Linked DNA regions of Homo sapiens: region 2 is linked to region 1. Evidence: promoter capture Hi-C in human tissues and cell types (Jung and others, 2019). All regions are on one chromosome and are shown on one strand. Each heading gives the region's core, a stretch centred on a gene start or on the middle of the fragment in contact. The rest is flanking DNA. Distances are from core to core; before and after follow the strand shown.

Evidence for each region. The method cuts DNA at HindIII sites, captures the fragments that hold promoters and counts their contacts. A contact is called where the count stands out against the background at its distance.
Region 2: a fragment that was not itself captured here is called in contact with the fragment with the promoter of SLC13A5 in region 1 in 2 of the 25 tissues and cell types used here (H1 embryonic stem cells and ovary).

Annotation. Positions count from the first base shown.
Region 1 is chr17:6,711,039-6,714,984 of GRCh38, forward strand. SLC13A5 (solute carrier family 13 member 5) reads right to left here and starts at 2,331. Exons shown (of 12, transcript NM_177550.5): 1 at 2,194-2,331. The coding sequence starts at 2,295. The HindIII fragment of the contact is 16,548 bases long and covers 1-3,946 here.
Region 2 is chr17:6,875,250-6,879,195 of GRCh38, forward strand. LOC124903907 (a long non-coding RNA gene) reads right to left here. Exons shown (of 2, transcript XR_007065596.1): 2 at 1-1,638. It also overlaps the pseudogene ALOX12P2. Among named protein-coding and RNA genes, the nearest start is that of TEKT1, 45 kb to the left of the region's middle. The HindIII fragment of the contact is 3,980 bases long and covers 1-3,627 here.

The DNA of each region.
Region 1 (3,946 bases), core at 1,081-3,580:
GGAGACAGGAAAACTGGAGACAGTCGGTGAGGAGAGAGGCCTGGGTGTTGGCAGAGGGTGGCGTGCCCTGGGAGTCACCTCCTGGCAAGGACTGTGTTGCTCAGGCTGCCAAGGTCCTCCCAGCTTCTCACCAGCTTCCCAGCTGCCCTGCCCGTGCTGTGTACCCTCTGGGTTTCCTTGCACAATGGGGCGGCCATGGAGGGTGGGGGCAGGGTGACCAAAACAGGCAGAAAGGGAAAAAACAAGAAGACAAGGTCCAGGGTCCTCACCCAACCCCGCCAGAAGGAAAGCTCGTGAAGGCAGCCTTTGGAAGGACTCTCCCTGGGTTCTCTTCTTCCCCTCCCTGGTCCTCACTCAAAGGACAGCTTAATCTCTCTCTCTCTCTCTCTTACACACACACACATACACACACATACACACACACTGAGTTAGGGTTTCCAGTTCAGGGTGTGTGTGTGTGTGTGTGTGTATGTGTATGTGTGTGTTTGTGTTTTTTGTGTGTTTTGTGTGTGTGTTTGTGTGTGTGTTTGTGTGTCTGTGTTTGTGTGTTTGGGTGTGTGTTTGTGCGTGTGTTTTTGTGTGTGTTTGTGTTTGTGCGTGTGTTTTGTGTGTGTCTGTGTGTTTGTGTGTGTGTCTGTGTGTGTTTGTGAGTGTGTGTGTGTGAGAGAGAGAGTGTGTATGTGTGTGTGTGTGAGTGGGGTCTCCTGTGGCAGGAAGGTCAGCCAAGCTACTATAATCATTCCAGGGAACATCACTCCCTACCAGCAGAGCTGAAATCGCAGCTCTCCTGCCTGGCTACTTCCCCTGGACAATAACAACCCCAGACTTCTTGCTACAGAGGAAGTGTGGCTGCCCACAGTTGGTGTGGCAACTGCACAGCCTCCACAGTTGGATCTGCTGTCCTTGACCCATCCAGGGCCTGTGCTAGGCCCACCCAAGGGCTCCTCCCAGTCTCCCCCTCCCCCATCCTAGGAACTAACGTTAATCCCTTTTGATTCCCAAAGCCTTAAAGTGTCAGAACCAAACCACCTAGCCCCATTGTACAGATGAGAACACCAAGGCCCAGAGAGCACAGGCACTTGGCTAAAGTCACACAGATGACAGAATGGTGGAAGTCCAGTTCTCTTGCAGGTTGGCTTCCTGACACCCCAGTGCACTCCCTTCCTCTAGAGCTCCCCCCCAGAGCATCCCCTGAAGAGCTCCTCTGTTTCCCAAACCTGCCTGGGGAGGGGAGGTGGGGAGCTGGAGGTTTCCTGTCTGGGCTGAGAGTGAAAGGGCTGAAAGAAGGAACGAGGAAGGAGCAGCCAGCAGCCACAAAAGGCTTCAAAGGGCTTGGGCCTCCGCCAAACTGGCTGTGCACAGCCCAGTGGAGCCTGCGCCCACCCTGCGGCCAAGGCCATTCATTCTCTCTCTCCCTCACAGAAGCATTAGGAGACTAGGGCCTGGGAGGAAGCTTCCCTGCAACTCCAGGTCCTGCCACCCAAGGCGCGAGCTCTGGGAATGTGTCCCGCCTCCTGCTACAGCCCCAGCAGGCAGGAGGCAAAGCAGGCCAACCCCAACCTGCCTGCAGCCTGGAGCAGGATTATGAATCAGATGTGGCTCTCCAGGTTGGAAGGAATGTGGATCATAGATAGAGACACTAAGGCCCAAGGAAGGGCCAGAGAGTGGCAAAGACAGCGCAGGATCCACGTGGGTGATGATTTTTTTCCTGTAGGTCCCTCCTGACGGCAGAAGCCACCTACAGCTTGAAGTCTTCTTTGGCGAAGGGAAAAGACAGGAGAGAGAGAGGGAAAGGCAAGCTCCCAGGTTCCCTGTTGGCGCAGGTGGCATTTTGGGGGGAAACAGGGTTATGCACTGTGGGAGATTCGATTCGGAGCCAGGGGCTGAGCCTAAGGCTGGGATCTGTGTGGCTGAGATCTGTGCTCACTTCGAGGTTTCCGTGCTTGCCTGGACGGCTCTTGCGCCCTGGGATCTGTAAACCCCAAGGGTGGTGCGCCCTGGGGTCGCCATGCCCCTCAGATTCTTTACAGGGCACCTCCCATCCGGCACCTGGAGCTCCTGAGTGCGCGCGCCCCGGGAGAGCTGTGCTCCCCGCGAAATCCGTGCGCTCCAGCTCAGGGCTCCCGGGATCGGTGCCCGTTAGTGGGCACAGGACGCCGGGTGTCCGAAGGGCTGCCTGGAGATGCAACTGACCTTGGCGGGCATCAGAATGACGAGTGGCAGCAGCAGGAGCGGGGTGACGAACAAGATCACGAAGGACTTGAACTTGGAGACATAGCTCAGCGCCGAGGCCATCGCGCGGGAGGGAGACTGGCGGGCGAGACGAGTGAGGGGCAGCTAGAGGCGCCGCGGGCTTAAGAAGGGGCCACAGTCCCCGGGGATTGGGGAGGGGGCGGTGACAACTCCGCCCCGCACGGGGGCGCCTCCCCGCGGCCCTGGGGCGGGGCCACCCCTCGGGGTCTGTGGGACGCGCCTGCCCCCAATTCTGCCACCCGGCGGCGGTGGGAGGCGTCTTTGGACTCCAACGCTTCGGGCCAGCCCTCTAGGGGCAGCCTGGGCCCTAGCATCTCGCGCTGTCCAAGCCTCTCCTGCGCTGCCGAGGCAGAGGTGCGTCCCGGGGCTGCCAAGCGGGGCGTGTTTTGGTCACTGGTGCTGCCCGCTTTGGCGTAAGGCGCCCTCCCGCGTCCGCATCTGCTCTTTCCTGGGCTCTGAAGGGTCCCGGATGAAACTCTCTGCAGGCCTCTGGGTCTCTCAGGTCTATCTCCCCGATCTCCCTCTCCTTTCCATCTCCTTACTTCCGCCCCTCCGGTGTCTCTCCGAGAGGTGTCCCCCCACGCCCCGCGCCCTCCGCACCGCGGGCCTCGCTTCCCGGTCCCCCCTGGCTTCCTCGCCACGTCCGCCCCACTCTAGGTGCAGGACCCCTTTTCCCCGCTCGCACTCTCCGGCCCGGAGCTCCTGGGCGATCGCACAGGGAAGCGAGGCCACTGTCCTCCTCTGTCCCAGGGGCTGTCGCGCTCCAGTGGACGCTGCACCCCGCAGACGCCCGGCGGGCAGATGCGGACACGCGTCTTGGAGGGGCCCCACCGAGCCTCAGCAGCCGCAGCTGCCCGCCCGACCCAGGTCAGAGGGAAACGGAGCTCTAGAGAGGAAGGGACACAACTAAGGCGACACTGAGACAGTCGCCCATGTATTCATTCAGCCCGCCAGGCAACAGACAGGTGCCGAGCACCTCTTCTCCGCGAGGCCCTGTTTTGGGCACTGGAGACACACGGATGCAAAGACATCCCCACCTCTGTGATTTTCTTCTTTCCTCTCCTCTGCCTGCCTCTCATTCTGCAGCTTCCTTTTGGGGAGTCTCATCCATGCTGGTGGCCTAACCACAGCCGGCTCCTTAGTGATTACCATCCTCTGCCTTCAACCCAGCCATGATGCCAGAGTCCCAGATGTCCAGCCTTCCGCAGACTGGACGTGTCTCGGCCCGAAAATTCAACACATCCTGAATCAAGCTCATGAGTTCCTTCCTGTGACCTGCACCCAAGGACATGCATTCTCCCAAGCCCCTCCTGCAATTGCCTCCCTCCTGTCCTTTTCCCTTTGTAACTCTCATGCATATAGCCCTGGGTTTTCCCGCCTTTCCTGTGTCCCCAGGGCACTTAGCACAATTTGTACCTCTTATATTTATTGGTGTAATTTTTACTTTTTACTTTTTTATTTTTTAAGTGTTATTTCATTTTTAATTGACAAATCATTGTCTATATTTACGGGGTACCATGTGATTTTTCAATGTGTGTATAATTGTGGTGTGTTCAAATCAGGCTAATGAGCATATTTATCACTCGAATATTTATCATTTCTCTTGTTTTTGTTTTTTGTTTGTTTGTTTGAGACAGAGTTGTGCTCCTGTCACCCAGGCTGGAGTGCAGTGGCACGATCTCGGCTCACTGCA
Region 2 (3,946 bases), core at 388-2,887, 160 kb after region 1:
CACAGCCTTCAGAGCTGAGAGCCCCCGAACAGAGATTTACCCACGTATTTATTAACAGCAAACCAGTCATTAGCATTGTTTCTATAGATGTTAAATTAACTAAAAGTATCCCTTATGGGAAACGAAGGGATGGGCCGGATTAAAGGAATAGGTTGGGTTAGTTAACTGCAGCAGGAGCATGTCCCTAAGGCACAGATTGCTCATGCTATTGTGTGTGGCTTAAGAATGCCTTTAAGTGGTTTTCCATCCTGGGCGGGCCAGGTGTTCCTTGCCCTCATTCCAATAAACCCACAACCTTCCAGCTTGGGTGTTAAGGGCCATTATGAACATGTTACAGTGCTGCAGAGATTTTGTTTATGGCCAGTTTTGGGGACAGTTTATGGCCAGATTTTGGGGGGGCCTGCTCCCAACATGTCTCCCTTCTTTGATTTGCAAAGAGATAAAAGCAAAGGCAGCTTTGTCACAGTGAGCTACTTCTCACAGGAGTCAGGATCCACATCTGCACACTATACAAAGACAAACAACATGGATTAAAAGCACAATCATCATTGAAATACAGAGCTTCCAAGTGTTTTTATCCATTCTAATGGGTTACTAGCTGCTAATTTGTCTGCAGCTCCTTTAAGGACTCCAGTTCCTGGCATTAAGGTCAGGTGTGCCTGGGATGCTTTAAATATTTGTTCTTTTAATTTTGCCATATCCAAAAACAAGTTTGTAGAGTGTCCTTCTAGATGCCTTTTTATTCTTTCCCAAATTTTGATCTTATTAAGAACATCTAATAGTTTCCACAAATCCTTATGTTAAGCTTCTAGAGCAGGCCATATCATTTGAGGTTGAGGTGCCACTATACCGCCACGGTTCCAGATAATAGGAACTTTTGCCATACTTCTTATCATTTCTACCATCTGACCGTTTTGTTCAGATCATCTGAACATAGTGTGGCCATGGCACGCAGACTGAGAGGTGCAATTCAAGCTAAACATCCCCTTAGGGTACCAATTAATAATGATTCCATAGGAATCATTGTGCAGCACCTCTGTCTGTTCTGCAAAGCAATCTTCCTAAACAAGTACGTTCATCTTTTTCTAACTGGGTCCAATCCTGTTTACAAAAAGGTTTTTGAGGATGGTATGCCTCAATTATATGAGCAGATTTATTATGGTAAATACTGAGATCAGAAAGCATGTGTAACTGTGTCAGAGTGATTGCATCCAGGCATTATTGCCGGCCAAGATTGATAAATATGCCCAATAAGTATAACTGTTCTCTGTGTCAGCCCCTGTTGAAGGAATACTCATGGCAGTGGTGATAACCGCTATCATAGCTACCATTAAATTATTCATTGTGACTGGTTGTCCCGCTTTCCTCAGGTTTTCTTCCGCCATCTGTGACAGCTTCTTGATCTGTCCCCAGGTGGGTGGCTGTGTTTGACGGGTGTTGCTCGTGACAATTGGGGTCCTCCTCAGCATCAGTCTTGACATGGCTGCAACTGGGGGGTCCTCGGGATCCTCCTGTAATCTGGCTTATGCTAAGGTTTCAGGTGTATTGATGGTATCCAGATCAGCTGTTGATTTTGGCCTGGAGAAACACAAGCATAACCTCTACCCCAGGTTATCTTCTTTTCAGGTAATGCTGTATCTGCGTTTGAGACCAGAGGCATTAACATGGGTTAAATTGTGAGTGTCTAGCATTAGATATTGCATTAGCAACTAGGCGATCAGCCATTTGATTCCCTTCAGTCAAAGATCCTGGAAGAGGTATATGAGCCCTAATGTGAGTGATGTAAAAAGGGTGCATTCTACGTCTAACTGCTGTTTGCAATTGGGTAAATAAAGTCATCAGTTGTGTATCTGTATGAAATCATAACTGAGCATTTTTAATTAACTCTGTTGGAATGAACCACATATGAAGAATCAGAAATCACATTAATAGGCACATCAAAAGCAGTCAATACCTCAATTACCACTACAAGCTCTGCTTTTTGAGCTGAAGTATAGGACGTCTGGAAAACTTTACTTTTTGAGCCAAAATAAGAAGCTTTACCATTACTAGACCCATCTGTAAAAACATTCTCAGCCCCTTCAATTGATTTAAACTTAGTTATTTTGGGGAGAATCCAATTAGTTAATTTCAAAAACTGAAACAGCTTCATTTTAGGAAAATGATTATTGAGAATACCCACAAAGTCAGCTAAATGGGTTTGCCAAGTAAGACTTTTTATAAAAGCTTGCTGTATTTGTGCCTTCGTGAGAGGGACAATAATTTTTCTAGGATCATATCCATGTAATTTAACAATCTGAGTTCTCCTACTCCCTATAGTAGTGATTTGATCTAAATAAGGAGTTAGAGTCCATGAATTAGTATGTGGAAGAAAAAGCCATTTTACTAAGTCCTGTTCTTGGACAATAACACCAGTGGGTGAATGCTGAGTTGAAAAAATTAGCAAATCTAGAGTCTTCTCTGGATCTATTCTATTTATTTGAGCTTTATGGACTTGCTTCTCAATCAGTTGTAACTCTGCCTCTGCCTCGTTTGTTAATTGCCAAGGGCTAGTGAGACTAGGATTTCCTCTAAGGATAGAAAACAGATTACTCATGGCATAGGTAGGAATGCCTAGAGCAGGTCGTATCCAATTAATATCCCCTGGTAATTTTTGAAAATCATTTAATGTTTTTAATTTATCCCTAAGTATGGTTACTTTCTGTGGCACAATGGTAGTGTCATTTACTAAGGTCCCCAAGTAAGAATAAGGAGTAGTAGTCTGAATTTTGTCAGGAGCTATAATTAAACTAACGCAAGAAATCGAATTTTGCAAGTGATCATAACATTGGAGTAATATTTCTCGAGTGGGGCAGCACAAAGTATATCATCCATATAGTGAATAATGTAACACTGTAAAAACTTTTTACGAGTAGGTTCAATTGCTTGCCCCACATATGTCAGGCAAATTGTGGGGCTATTTAACATGCCCCTTTCCAATGAATACGCTTTCCAATGAATACGCTTAGCAGGCTGCAGGTTGTTTACTGCAGGAATTGTAAATGCAAACTGTTCACAGTCTTGCTCAGCTAAAGGGATAGTAAAGAAACAGTCTTTTAAATCTTTGACTATCAAAGGCCAATTTTTTGGAATTATAGCAGGAGAAGGCAATCCTGGCTGTAATGCTCTCATAAGTTGTGTAACTGAATTGATGTCTCTTAAGTCAGTTAACATTCTGCATTTACCTGATTTTTTCTTAATTACGAAAACTGGAGAATTCCAAGGGGAAAATGTTGGAGCTATGTGCCCATTTTCTAATTGTTCAGTAACTAATTTATCTAAAGCCTCCAGTTTCTCTTTACTTAGCGTCCATTGTTCTATCCAAATTGGCTTATCTGTTAACCATTTTAAAGGTATAGGTTCTGGAGGCTTAACAATGGCCGCCATCAAACATTATTTCCTAATTTTTGGCGAGAACTTTGTTTTTCCACTTGAAGCAGTTCTTTCAAACCTTGCAAATTTTTTTCTAGTCCCATACCAGGGACATACCCCATTTCATGCATTGTATGTTGACTTTGAGGGCTATATAATTGTTCTGGAATTAGAACTTGTGCTCCCCATTGTTGTAATAAATCTCTTCCCTATAAATTTACAGGTACAGAAGTTATAATTGGTTGAATAGTCCCAGGTTGTCCATCAGGCCCTTCACAGTGCAAAATATAACTACTTTGATATACTTCAGGGGCTTTACCAACTCCAGCTATGTTAAATTGAGCAGGTTGAATTGGCCATGCAGATGGCCAGCGCTGTAGAGAAATGATTGAAATGTCTGCTCCTGTATCTACCAAACCTTTAAATTTCTTTCCCTGAATAGTTATTTCACAGGTAGGACGTTTATCAGTAATTTGATTTACCCAATAAGCTGCTTTGCCTTGTTTATTTGTGCTTCCAAATCCTCCTATTCGTT